Regions from separate parts of the Homo sapiens genome. Here region 1 is linked to region 2. Evidence: promoter capture Hi-C in 16 types of primary human blood cells and fetal thymus (Javierre and others, 2016). All regions are on one chromosome and are shown on one strand. Each heading gives the region's core, a stretch centred on a gene start or on the middle of the fragment in contact. The rest is flanking DNA. Distances are from core to core; before and after follow the strand shown. Region 1 has its middle 9.9 kb from the start of EVX2. Region 2 holds the start of LINC01116 (long intergenic non-protein coding RNA 1116).

Region 1 (6,279 bases), core at 2,820-5,319, 560 kb before region 2:
TGATGGCCAAACCCAAGCCCACCCTCCCAGCAGCAGCCCTGGGCTCTTCAGGAGCCTTTGGCTTCCCCTCCATCCGGGTAATTTATTTGTCCAGTCAACAAGCATTTATTGAGTCTCTACTCTGCTCCAGGCCCCAGAGATCCCCAGCTAAAACCCACCCCTTGCTCTTGCAGGTGATAGGTGAATGCAGGAGTCTCTGAAGGGGAGCGGGAAGATATCCAGGAAGACTGACCGTGAAGAAATCCAGGAAGACTGCTGAGGAGCTGACCCCAAGGGTGAACAGGCCTTGGGGCCTAAGAAGCTGATGAGAATGTTCATGAATGGCCCTTTGGACCCTCAATTCCACGTGGCCTCTCAGGACAGGCTAGTAGTGAGAGGCAGTGGTGGGGTTCGAAACCTGCCTGAGCTATTCCCAAGAGCAGTGTGAAGTCACCTCACACAGCCCTTGTAGTCTCCTGCAATTTGGCTAGCAAAGCTATGTCGGTAGACGCATTCAGAGGTGGCCCACTCCGGAGAGGGACAGATGTTGCCAGCCCCTCACCACTCCTAAGCCCACGCATCTGAGTGGGGAGAATCAGCTTTTCCAAAGCACCACCCTACCCCCACCCCACTAGATGACTTGGATAGTCAGAGGAGGCGAGAAGCCTTGGCGGAATGTGTGAGGGTGGGGAGCGATCGTGCTGGAGAAGACCGGGCGCAAACAGTCGCTGGGGAGATTGCAGCCTTTAAGCTTTTTTTCTTATTCGCATCTTCTGGCTTCTCTCTTCCGTCGAACCCTTTTGGCAACCGCAGGGAACACGCATCCTCAGGTTGGCACGGGAGGCGGCGAGGAGCTCCCGGAGCCACCGGCTGCTGGATCCCCCTCTCCCCCGCGTCTGGGCGGAGGAGGAAGGGAACCGGGTCGCGCGTCCCCCTGCGACAGCTCTGAAGGCTCGAGTCCCTGCAGAGCGTGGACACCAGCCGTCTTCTCCCGCCCACGGCGTTACACCCGTCTCGGCTGCTCCGAAGAGACCCCTCGCTGCCATCGCAGAAAGGCTGGGCCAACCCTGAGGGCCCTCTCGCCTGGCCGTCCCTCCTCGGGTGCGAAATTAGGGGAGGAGGGTGTCGGGGTGTGCATCTCCAGGCTGCGGAGCTCCCGGGCATGAAAGCCAGGGCCGAACCCGAGAAAGCAGAAGTGCACGAGTTCGAAGTGGCCACTCGGCCAGCACTCCACAGAGCTGACCCATCCAAAGAGGGGAAAGACCTGCCTGGGAGAGACCCTAAAATGAGGTCGGGGTTGGGGGATAGGCCACCTCACCCCTGACCGCCTCTTCCGCCCGGACTGCAGTCACCCGAATAGCCTTCTGCCTGCCCAAGAGGAGCAGAATTGCTCAGGAACCCGGACTAGGGTCCTTCCTACCTACACAAATGCAGATCTACCTCCGTGGGTGCCCCATTATGGAACTGCAGTGTCACCCACACACCTCTCTTTGAAGGGAAGCCTTCTGGGGCAGCTTAGCGGAGTAGCTGAGAGCGTGAAACTCATGATCTGGGCAGTGCAATATTCAACTCTGGGAAAAGTGTTCATCCCACAGCCCAGTTTACCCCTCTGTAAAATGGGGATAATGATGGAAACTATTTCGTATGAGTGTGGTGAAAATTAAATGAGTTAATGTATGCTCTTGGCAGTACGTGGCATATGGAAAGTGCCAAAGTTTTATTTAACTGCCCTATTTTCACCAAGATTTTTTAAAATGGGGCAGAGGAATAGAAGGAGGTCCCAGAAAAACTCATTTTAATCCCTCCTGCCCTTCCGCAAAGCCTTCTGCCGTGGCCTCTGACTTTTTTATTTTTACTTTTCTCCAGAGAGAACTTAAGTTAGGCCTCATGAACAGGGAGGGCAAACCAGGCCTGCTTGGGGGTCGGGGTCGGGGTCGGGATTGGGGTGGGGTTGCAGATGAGATATCTGAGGCCAAGCCCTGCCCTCCTGTAGCTTCCACTCCAGAGTTGAACCTGGGCTAACTCTTCTCCCACACAAAGTTGTCAAACCGAGCAGGATATCCGCAGAGATTCGCCAACCGTCTTGGCATGAAGGTGGAAACAACGGGTCACCGCCGCCCTGAATCAGCTCCTGCCAAAGGGCTCATTAAATCCCCCTCCAGAGCCCCCATCCCAGGACTAAGTAAGTCATTTGCTGGTCTGGCTTGGATGAACCAAGGATCGCAGGAGGCTGCCTGTGTGCCTACCCGTCCCCCCGCCCGAGTCCCCTAGTGGGCGAACGCTGGGCCGGGCACGGTATCTCCCTGGCGAGCACAGCCTGAACCCAAGGCTGGTTTTGAGGTGGCAGTTAATTACTAGCCCGGAAAGCCGAAGCCCCGGAGCCGATGTCTGGGCTGACAGGGTTCCCTCCTCAGCCTCGGGGCAGTCAGACGATTCCTAACAACTTCTCCCAAGGAGGTAGATCCCTGTTTATCAACCAGCACACCCCGTCGGCCCTTTTCTTTGGTAAACACTCTTTAAACAAACAGCCCATCCGCCCTGTTATTGCCAAAGCTGCTCAGAGCTTTAATAAAAGCCCAGGGAAGATCAGAACCCGCGTCCAAGGCTGCTGCTTAATCCAATGAAGGCAATTTCCGAGGATAATTGCGAACATGTTTTAATGCATATGCATGAAAAAGGATTTTTTTTCTGAGAGACCAACTTTACATGCTTATGTAATTGATTGAGGCGCTGACCCGCTATTCAAAATGTTATTTGAGAACCATCACAATGCGTAAACTTGCAAATTGCCCAGCTTGTATCTGAATTAATACCTCATTCATCATCATTATGGGTTGATAAGTTAATTTAACCATTTCATTCTGCCTTAATGAGCTATAGTTAAATTAATGCCACATAATATATGAAAGTAACATTTAAATAGAAGCACTGGGCTGAGACAAGCCGAGGCTGCTGCTATTTGGGCTGAAATAAGGTGACATAAATCTTTTCTTCATTACAGGACCCAGTCTGCTCTACCAGCAGTTATGAAGTATTTATTCATTCACTTTCTTTTGCGAAGTTGCTTTGCCAAATAGCATAGGTAAATTATGTGAGCTTGTAAATAATGCCTGAGGATGTATTTATTAAAATAAGATTGGGGTGGAGGTGGGAGAATCTATAAAAAGCATTTTCACAGCATGCTTTCCCATCGCTCCAGGAAAACCAAGACCCCCACTGCCAGCCCTCCCCAACTTGGCTGGGAATACCACAGGGTCTGGAGGTCACTGGTTTTACTCCAAAGTGCCTGCTCTGAGTTCAAACCTCAGAAACACCAGCCTGCCCCTTTTCTCGTTTGCAGACTGGACTATCCTCCCAACCCACCCCCGCCACCACCCCTCCTCCCCTGGGTTTCCGTCACAGGCAGAGACACCTTGATTCTGGTTTTCCTAAGTCAGGGATGATGAGCTTAGTTGTGGATACTTTGCAAATTGGTGTAAAGGAAGCTGGAAGAGAGGGTGACCCTTCCCACCTCAGAAGTGGTTCAGGAAGCTTCCATGAGATTCTTTGGACCCAGACCTTAGGTCAGAGAAGCTGAGGTGAGAGTGGCTCCAAAGAAAGAGAAGGGATCAGGCCAAAAGGTCACTGAAGAAAGGGGAGGTGCCCCCAGGAGCCATAACCCCCTACATTTCTCCCTCTCTACTCCCAAGCCAGTCTTTTATTGGGATAAGTTATTTAAACTCAAGGGGAGTCTCTCCATCTGAGAGGGGGTGAGACAGGGCAGGCTTCGTGGGTGGGGATCTTTGTAGTCACACAGGGTGATGGGCTTAAAAGCCACCCCCCAGCTTGATTTGATGTTCTGTTGTTGCCCTCTTGAAATTCCTAATAACTTTTGAACAAGGGGCCCACATGTTCATTTTGCACTGGGACCAAAAATTGTGCAGCCAGTCCTAGGTGGAAAAAGAGGAAAGGAAAAGAGACTGACTTCTCATGACCACTGCAGGGCTCTATGTCCCCTTCTTTGGTTCCTTATGAGAGGAAACTCAGAATGCTACTTGAAAGTAGATCCCCACTTCTGATCAAATCATGGCTCATAACATTAACAGACAAATTATAGCGTGAGCCCTACGCTGCTCTCCAGGGTCTCCAGGTGTAGGCCTTTGATGACTGGGGTTTGGGAGAGCTGCCAATAAAGGTTCAGCCTAAAACCAAAATGCACTCCAGCTTCTGACCTGATCGGCCTAGGAAAAACGCTCAGGGCCTTGGCAAAGGAAAAGGTCACTTTCCTTCCTCAGAAAGCCCAGGAAAGGGACTCAAGTTTTAGCGGGAGGGAGAGTTATAAGTCTTCCTTTAGCGGATTCAGGATGGGTAGGATTGAAAGGACACCTTTCCTGGAATCCATAGCAGACTGAAGAATTTTGAGTTTGGAGCTGTGTGTAAGTAAGTAGATTTTTACAAAGGTAAATTTCTTTGCTTGTTCTTTTTGCACCTAAAAATCCAGGACACCGGAGCATTATGGGAAGAAAAAGAAATACAATTTATGGAAGAGAAGTAACAAGAGGAAAACCCTTACCATATATTTAGTCTTCATAACTTATTTAATTGCAGAGGGTAGCGATTGTTTCATCAAATGTTTCATATTTCTGAGTTTGGAGGGCGGGGATGCCAGGGTAAGCTTCCTCCGAGCGACTAAGGAGCAGCAACAAGCTCTGGAATTTCCTCTCGGGGTGGTCCGTTCCACCTTAAATAACTTGGGCTTTTTGGTCCCAAACGCGCCCTGTAGTTCAGGTTTTTTTGTCCTCCCTGCAGCAGCTGTCACCCTGCATTACTCGCAGTCAGCTAAATGAAACATTATTCTAAACATATGCATCGTAATCAGTTCGGTCACACTTACAAGAACACGCGTTAATAAGGCAATCAATCACCCTGGAACAAGCAAGTTGTTCTGTAACAGCTCATAAACAGTGTGTAATGAAGAATTGGAGGTTACCGTGACATGCGTTGATCAGATAATCAATGTCAAAGATGCGATGAATGTCAGTAAATGTAGTTTTCATGTCGTTTCTATAAAATCTTCAATTTACAACAAGCAGTTCAATTACCCAGAAAATACAGTCAATTAAATAGGGGTGATTGGACAGTAGGGGGGTGGATCATCGATCTTTGCATTTCTATCTCGCTAGTGGACATTTAATTTGGTTTTTCCATTAGCGACGAAATAAAGAAAATATAAAATATATTAAACAACCTACAGATTTATTTTCTTGTCAAAAACAATTCGGGCTTGATGACAGACAGTCTTCTGCATTTTATGATGAATTATTTTTTCATTCTTTGCACACTCGAGACAAAAAAAATGCTGTTATTTTGGACAGGGTTTTTTGGCCACTGTCTTTTTCCGTTTGCTGGCCCATCTATCTCAATGCTTTTGTTTTTAAGGGTTACAACCCCCGAGTTAGCAAAGAGCACCGAAAACCAGGGTGATACATCACCAGTCCAAATGTGCTGCTATAATCGTATTTCTTTAATGGGGGAGTTCAAGAAAAGAGAGAAGGGGAAAGAGAGAAAAGAATTTATCGAGGGGGAGGGAACCCTTGGGATTACTTCAGTATATATTTAACCAACCTGCAATTAAAGACGGTATCAGCTTGTATCATTTAGAGCTAATGCAATAATAATGGTAAATTACAGGCCAAAATGGCTTGTGATCGCAGCCTCTGTATTCCCAGTAGTGTCCTCATCGTTGTAATTAATGCCAGGGTGAGCAGTTGGAAAAAGAAAATTTCGAGGAAGGGACATCTTGGTTTTTAAATCGAATAGACTGCTTTGCACACACCATTGACTCTTGCATTTTGCCATCGAAATATCGATTTTAAGACAGATCTGTAAATACACGAAGAGGTGGACTGAACTCGGGAAAGAAGATAGGATTGGGAAAGAAAAACAGGGCTGAAGTACCAAAGCAAAAGAAAGAAGGAAGAGGGGAAATCATATTTTTAAATATCCAGTTGCTTGAAATACTCATAGCCAATTTGGTAAAATGTTCACAGCATCCTTTATCCTCAGCAAACAGAAACACTACTTAAGTTTGAAGAATGTGCTGTACACCCCTAAAAGAGACCAAAGGAGATGGAACTAGTAAGGGAGGGCTGAGCTTGAAGAGGGCTGAGCTCCTATTAAGAGTGAACTTTTTCCTTGAATTAAATATTAATATTTACTTCATAAGTGGGAGAATAAAAGTGGGCAAGTTAATTAGATAGAGGAATTAATTTTGTTTACCTTTGTAGTACTGCAAACATAAACAGCTCCTAACCCTGTGTA
Region 2 (6,529 bases), core at 3,706-6,205:
TATTTTTATTTTCTTCCCCTCACTTATCAGGATATTGTAATTTTATATACACGTGTTCAGTTCTCTGAAAAGAAAGTCCCCAAAGTTCATAATCTTCTAAATGTTTACCTAATATTAAGATGAAAGCACTCTTAAGGACGGATACTATGAAGATGCCTTAAGATTGTTTGAAAGTCCAGGCTTTCAAACAATTGGTGTTCCTCTCCAAAAAGAGGAGAGTCTTTGCAGTGGGAGCATAAGGATTAGTTGGTGGATGTGGTAAAGGCAGACAAGTTTATTAAAATATATGCAAATTGCTTTCATTTGGAGGTGTGTTATAGTTTACAAAGAGCTTTGGCATGCACATGTTGTATCATTTGGTAAAAATTAGCATACCCACCATTCTTAGAAGCAATTCAGTTGTCTTCTAATACACTGCTCATTTGTGAATATTTTCTTTTCGAACAGGCAGATTTTCACTTGAAATATTGAACTGTAAGATTCACATCATAAGGGGCGATAAAGTCATATGCATTCTTAAATAAAAATAATAGCACATTCTTAAAAGGACATTTGTTTGTTTATTACTTAAATGGGTTTCAGCCACTAGCGTACATTTGGCACCAGTTGCTGTGTTTTGCTCTAGCCTGAGACTCTAATGCCTGAGCACTAGTTACTCCGGTTCTAAAAAGCTATGAATTTTGATATATAGCCTACGTTATGAAAGCTTACCTCTTTATGGCTTCAACCAGGTGAGTGTATGGCTCCGGGCTTTTCTTTTCTTTTTTTTTTTTTTTTTTTGAGACGGAGTCTCGCTCTGTCGCCCAGGCTGGAGTGCAGTGGCGGGATCTCGGCTCACTGCAAGCTCCGCCTCCCGGGTTCACGCCATTCTCCTGCCTCAGCCTCCCAAGGAGCTGGGACTACAGGCGCCCGCCACTACGCCCGGCTAATTTTTTGTATTTTTAGTAGAGACGGGGTTTCACCGTTTTAGCCGGGATGGTCTCGATCTCCTGACCTCGTGATCCGCCCGCCTCGGCCTCCCAAAGTGCTGGGATTACAGGCGTGAGCCACCGCGCCCGGCCCGGGCTTTTCTTTTAGGCTCTTTGACCTAGAGAAATGAAGCTTGGAACAGGGGATCTGCAGGCACTAACTTGTAGAGGAGAGTCCCAGAGGTGCAGGTATCATGCATTCAGTGAGCTGGGAAACTCTAGCCCGGGAACATGGAGTCACTAAGTCTTTCAATGTAGGAAAGGAGCCCCAACTGTTAAGGCAGCTAGCCAAGCAGGTGACAAACTGTTGCACTTCAAAGACAGGAAATCCCTTCAAACGTTAAATTGTAAGGACACAAAATGACCTACATTCAGGAAAATGGGGAGTCAGTAATTCCACATCAGGCTTGTTCCAGTTTATTGAAGCATGTCTGGTGGATATTAACTGGTCCTAAGGATCCCACTCTAAGTGAATGGCAGCCTTTTCCACCAGAAACCCACATTTTCAACATCTTATTTTTAAAAAGTCATTCGAGTTCACATCAGATTGAAGTTATTATGTAAGGACTCTCTCTGGGACAGTTTTCAACCCTAAAATTAGTCTAGTTTAAAATTACAATTACTCAGAATGTTTAAGAAATCTATGAACATGTTTAAAAAATCTTCTGAACATCAAAACTAAGAGAAGGCATCAGTCTACAGTGCAGTCTTAGAAAACAACTGATGGATTGCTTAAAATTGGAAAGACAGCCTAGAAGTGCCACAATATCAAGGCATAGGACTTCCTAGTAGTTTTACCCAGCTCAGAAGGCAAAGTCTAGATGGATTTCCTGCCAATCCCCAAAACTACCTAGGGCTGTGGATGCAGCAGTTTGAAACATGTGTCAATGCTAAATACTTGTCCAACTGGCTTGAAATAAAGGGAGGGCTGGGGGTGGGGATGGTTGAAGGGGGCAGAGAAATGGCATATGCTTTTCTCAAGGCAGGGCCTCTGTCCCCCAGCACTCGAAGAATTACTGAACAAATGTGTTAAGTGGGAAGGAAATGGATGGGTAAAAGCTAACTTCATCTCAGCACAAAAGAAGTTGTCCTTCCATGCTTACATTTTCAAAATGCAAAAATCCAAAAAGCATCGATATTGGAAAATTCTTGGGAAACTGAAAAGCTTAACCATATTCCATAATTTTATTAATTTAAGACCTTCCAAGCAGGGAGGTCAAACTTAACTCTGCTTCCAGCTTACAAAGCACGTCAACTTATTTTGTATGTATAGCTATAAACTGTTTGCAAGTTTCCTCAGTCAGGTACTCGGGATGAATTATGAATGGAATTAGCCAGCCTGACTTGGAATTTCCTCACTTTTACTGGTCTTTAAACAAGATTTTTATACATTCATATGTAATCGATGGAACCAACACATGAAATGGCCCTTCACATAAAACACTCTCTTTTAAAGTGATTTTGCAGTTAAGGAAACCTAAATATGAACTTCTGATGTGGAAAAGGTAGTTTTTATATGCTATTTAGAAACTGATCTGAAAAACTGATGAGCTGACCACAAGATTTCTGTCAGAAACTGAAATTAGGATTATATTTTAAAATACAATTGTAAATGCTTGCTTTCTTTTATAAAACCAATCTGCTTCTCATATTCCTAGCCTTAGTCACACTGAAAATACATAAATTTGGTATTTGGTTATTGAGTTTTGAAGTTGCAAGGCAGGATAATTTAGATATTCATAAATACAGAGCATAAGAAAATCCTTCCTGAGTGCAAAACTATCTTTAAAATAATCATCCAAAGGAGTGAATGCCACACCTCCTGATTTAATTTTGGCTATTAGCTATTCATTCCTTAATATACATTCTTCCACATAAAACTTGCACTGTCTTAAAACTTGCCTACAAACTGGCATGTCCAAATTGTGTGCATAAAAAATAAGATGAAGATCGATGCCAAGTTTTCAAGAAAGAAATGAATTTGGATTGTTTATTACACCAACAAGACACATGTTCAAATTTATCCCCTGTATATAAAAAGATTAGTATAAAATATTTCTCAATTGTTTATGCAGAAAGTAGTAGGGAACAAATTCCAATAATTTTTATCACATAGCTGATATAGCTAAATATTTGGAACCTTTAAAAGAAAAGTGCTAATTAAAATACATATAAATTTTTCAAAGTTTAAAAAGCAGTTGGAAAAATACTTCTACCACTTAGAACACAATTACCTGCACAGCTTAATAGTCTTATGGATTTCAGTAGTAAAATATGTTTAGAAACATCTTGTCTTTTCCATTCCCTCAAACACACAGTGGGCTGAGAATATAACTCTTCATAATATATTAAAAAGTATCCACCATCTTGAGAAAACTATATATTATGGTAATAATTTTTACATCTGATTATGCCATTTTTAGACTATGGAATATAGTTTCTGAATTCTTTTGGGGGGAGGGAAATGGTGTGGAAAAACTACTTTTAAAACGTGCTTCTATCTTCATTTAAAATGTATAAATTCTCAAGTTTCTTAACAAAAAACTTTGATCCCACTATTTTATATAGACTGCATTTATAGGCTTGGAAATCCTGTTCTCTCTATTAAACTCCTTAGACAGGATTATATTAATCTTACTTAAAAGAAAAAACTACTTACAGCAAACATGGCACTCAAAAGAATTAAAAATAATACTTGCAATATTTTAATATTTATGAAAATCTGTTTTTTGAAAGACAGATGAACTTAGAAATGTGAACACACAAAAAAATACAAGTATAAAGTTTCCTTTCGAAACTTTTCCTTTCAAAGAAATATTTATCCCACATTTCTACATGCAAAACTTTTAGTGTAAACTATTGAGAAAATCCTAAATAGTAAAACATTTGTTTCTGTAAGTCCATAAGCACTTGCTGTACATACTCAGAGGCAGCCCTGGCCCACTGTATCCGCAAATGCATCTGCAGGGGGAATGGTTCCAAGCCAGTCACTGAGTGTCATCTGTCCCTTCTCCAGGGGCAGGGACATTGAGTCACAATGAAATTTTATTATTTATATACATTATTTTAAATTCTGTTTTTCTTAGAGCTCAAAGCTTTGACAGTAAATGTCAAACCACACTGAAGTTGACTTGTTAGCTTTTGTAGCTAGCCTTACTGCTGTCGGCTATTTCAAATTGCAAATGACAATAAACAGGTGGTTTTTTCTTTTAATCACTAAAGAACATCCCTTTTCATATAGCTAATATAACAAAAAAGTCTAAAACATGGGCATATAATTCCCACTGTAAATTAATTATAATTATTTCAGGCTTAAGTATTAATAGTAAGTGAATTCTTTTCAAGAGATCCTTGGCGGTTCCATTTGCCCTTGAACATTAACCCTGCCACCTCAAAACTCAATGCCTTTGCACTTAGTCTAGAAAATTAAAAATACAACTCGTCCTCATCCTAGTAACCTGCGCAAGTCTCTACAAGAGACTGGAGGATCTACGTGGTAACTAACTTTAACTTACCTCTTCTAGGCTTTATTAACGAGTTTATCAAAAAATATTAACTTTCAGGCAAGATGTGGCTAATTCTTAAATGCAGCTTAAAACTTTCGACATCCCCTTGTAAAAATGATGCCACGAAATGTGCCACTGTCCATTTATTTCCCATTTCACTTAACGCATTAATATTGACCCTTCGGACAGCAGCGCTGGCATCATTTTGGAGCTGCAAAGCAAGACGTGGCGCGTTGATGAGCTAAAAAGGACCCGTCTTTCTCTGGGCCCCTTACCAACATCTCTCTCCCTAGAAGACAAATACTTTTCAGATCTCGCACCCCTCTTTACAAACCTGAGCGGGGCTTTCGGGGTAAGGGGAGGCAAGACTTTGGTGGGAGCTGCTCGTCTTCAGCAAAGCGAGGGCCGGCTGCAAAGGCGCAGGCTGGCAGTTCGGGTCATTTCCTGCCGATTCCCCATTCCCCTCGGAGCAGCTTGGAGAGGAAGTCGGACTTCTTTTCCAGGCGGAGCCTCCACGATGGGCGTGGGCGCCTCGTGCGTGGGCCGGGGGCCTCGTGCGTGGGCGGGGATCGGGGCCTGGGAAAAACGGGAACCCGGTACCCGCCCGCGCCCTCGCGCGTCGGCCAGGAACCTCGGCCCCATGCGGGCGGGCCAGCGCGGCCAGGAGGGCCGGGAAGAGGGGTCCCCGGGGCCCCGGATGCGCTGAACTCCGGGGAGGGGATGGGCAGGAGAGAGAGCACACTCCTGGAGCCGCGACGTCCAAACCCGGACGCACTTGAACCCGCAGCGAGGCCCGTGGCTCGCGGCCTTCGGAGAGCACCCGCGCCCCGCGCAGACCGGACGCCGGCCTTGCCCGATCCTCGGCATCCTTCGGCGGGGCGGCCAGTCCCAGGGCGCTCGCTGAGGGCCACACCCTGGCCCCAGAGTTTAGCACCGCCGCGGGCAGGGCGCTCCGCTCCCGGACCCCGAATCTGAAAGCGGAGACCAAGGGCTGCCTGCGGCAAAGCTCGACATACACTTGATTTTCTTCCGATTTGGAGAAAATGTCACGGGCGAGAGCAAAAAAAAAAAAAAAAAAAAAAAAAAAAACCCTAACTGTAAATATTATTTGGAGGTGGGCGAGGGCGCGGCGTGCGCGCGGCGGCGGGTGGCGGGCGGCGCGGGCGCCCTTGCGGGGATTCCCGGTCTCTCAGCGCGCCCTAGTGGACGCCCTGCCTTTCGCTGGCTCCCCGTGCTCGTTACAATCTGCAATATATTATTTCTTCCGAAGTATTGACAATGTGTGAGACTCCAGTAACCCCGGAGCTCTCGTCTGTAATCAGCACATTTATCCACATTTAAGGGGGAAAATCCGAATTAAATCCCCGTGACCCTGATTGGGTTACAGTGTCATTTTCCCTGGATCCTCTTTTAAATCCACTCCACACTGCTTCTCTGTCTATTACATGCTAATTTAATTTTACTGTGGAAGATATTTTCAGGATTTGCTGAGGACAGTAAATTTTGTAGTTTATGTTATTTCACTTTTTATGACTTTTTAACACTTAATAAAATTTTATTAGAGCACTTTTGTGTTTACAAGGCCACAAAACTCTTGGCAGGTTGTCAGAAGTCCTTTTTATTATGATCCTACTGATATACTGCGAGTAATGAAATAATCATGTCCAGAAATGTATCAAAGGCCAGAGGGATTATCCCACTTAATAGCTCCACAGATGCGCCCAGAAGAATGTGGACGCGCGACAGGACGGGCTGAAAGGCTGCAGGAGGAAGCAGGCAGCCCCGGCTCCTGGCTTTACCATTTCGGTTGCTTTCCTAAAAGGCTACATGCAGGGTCATGTGACTTTCCGCGGTCTCAATAAAAAAAAAAAAAAAAAAAAAAAAAAAGAATTTATTCTATTGCAAAATGTGCTTTTCTTTTTATACTCCTTGTGTGGGCATTTAAGACTGTTCTAGTGGCAGTGGGGTTGGCTGTACATATCCATGTCAGTCACCGCGCCCGGCCCCACTTTCTTCTCATTTCTAAGTGTACTTTTGTGGCATTTAAACTGCCGA

Evidence for each region. The method cuts DNA at HindIII sites, captures the fragments that hold promoters and counts their contacts. A CHiCAGO score of 5 or more calls a contact.
Region 1: a fragment that was not itself captured here is called in contact with the fragment with the promoter of LINC01116 in region 2 in 4 of 17 cell types (fetal thymus, naive B cells, total CD8 T cells and 1 more); the score reaches 13.1 in fetal thymus.

What each region holds. Positions count from the first base shown.
Region 1 is chr2:176,070,882-176,077,160 of GRCh38, forward strand. No RefSeq gene overlaps it. Among named protein-coding and RNA genes, the nearest start is that of EVX2, 9.9 kb to the right of the region's middle. RefSeq lists enhancers at 1,789-2,289, 4,461-5,801. The HindIII fragment of the contact is 1,123 bases long and covers 3,509-4,631 here.
Region 2 is chr2:176,632,654-176,639,182 of GRCh38, forward strand. It overlaps LINC01116 (long intergenic non-protein coding RNA 1116), which reads right to left and starts at 4,956. Exons shown (of 5, transcript NR_188023.1): 1 at 4,809-4,956; 2 at 380-472. LINC01117 (long intergenic non-protein coding RNA 1117) reads left to right here and starts at 5,101. Exons shown (of 4, transcript NR_110599.1): 1 at 5,101-5,355. RefSeq lists a silencer at 5,566-5,615 and an enhancer at 5,776-6,290. The HindIII fragment of the contact is 4,643 bases long and covers 4,062-6,529 here.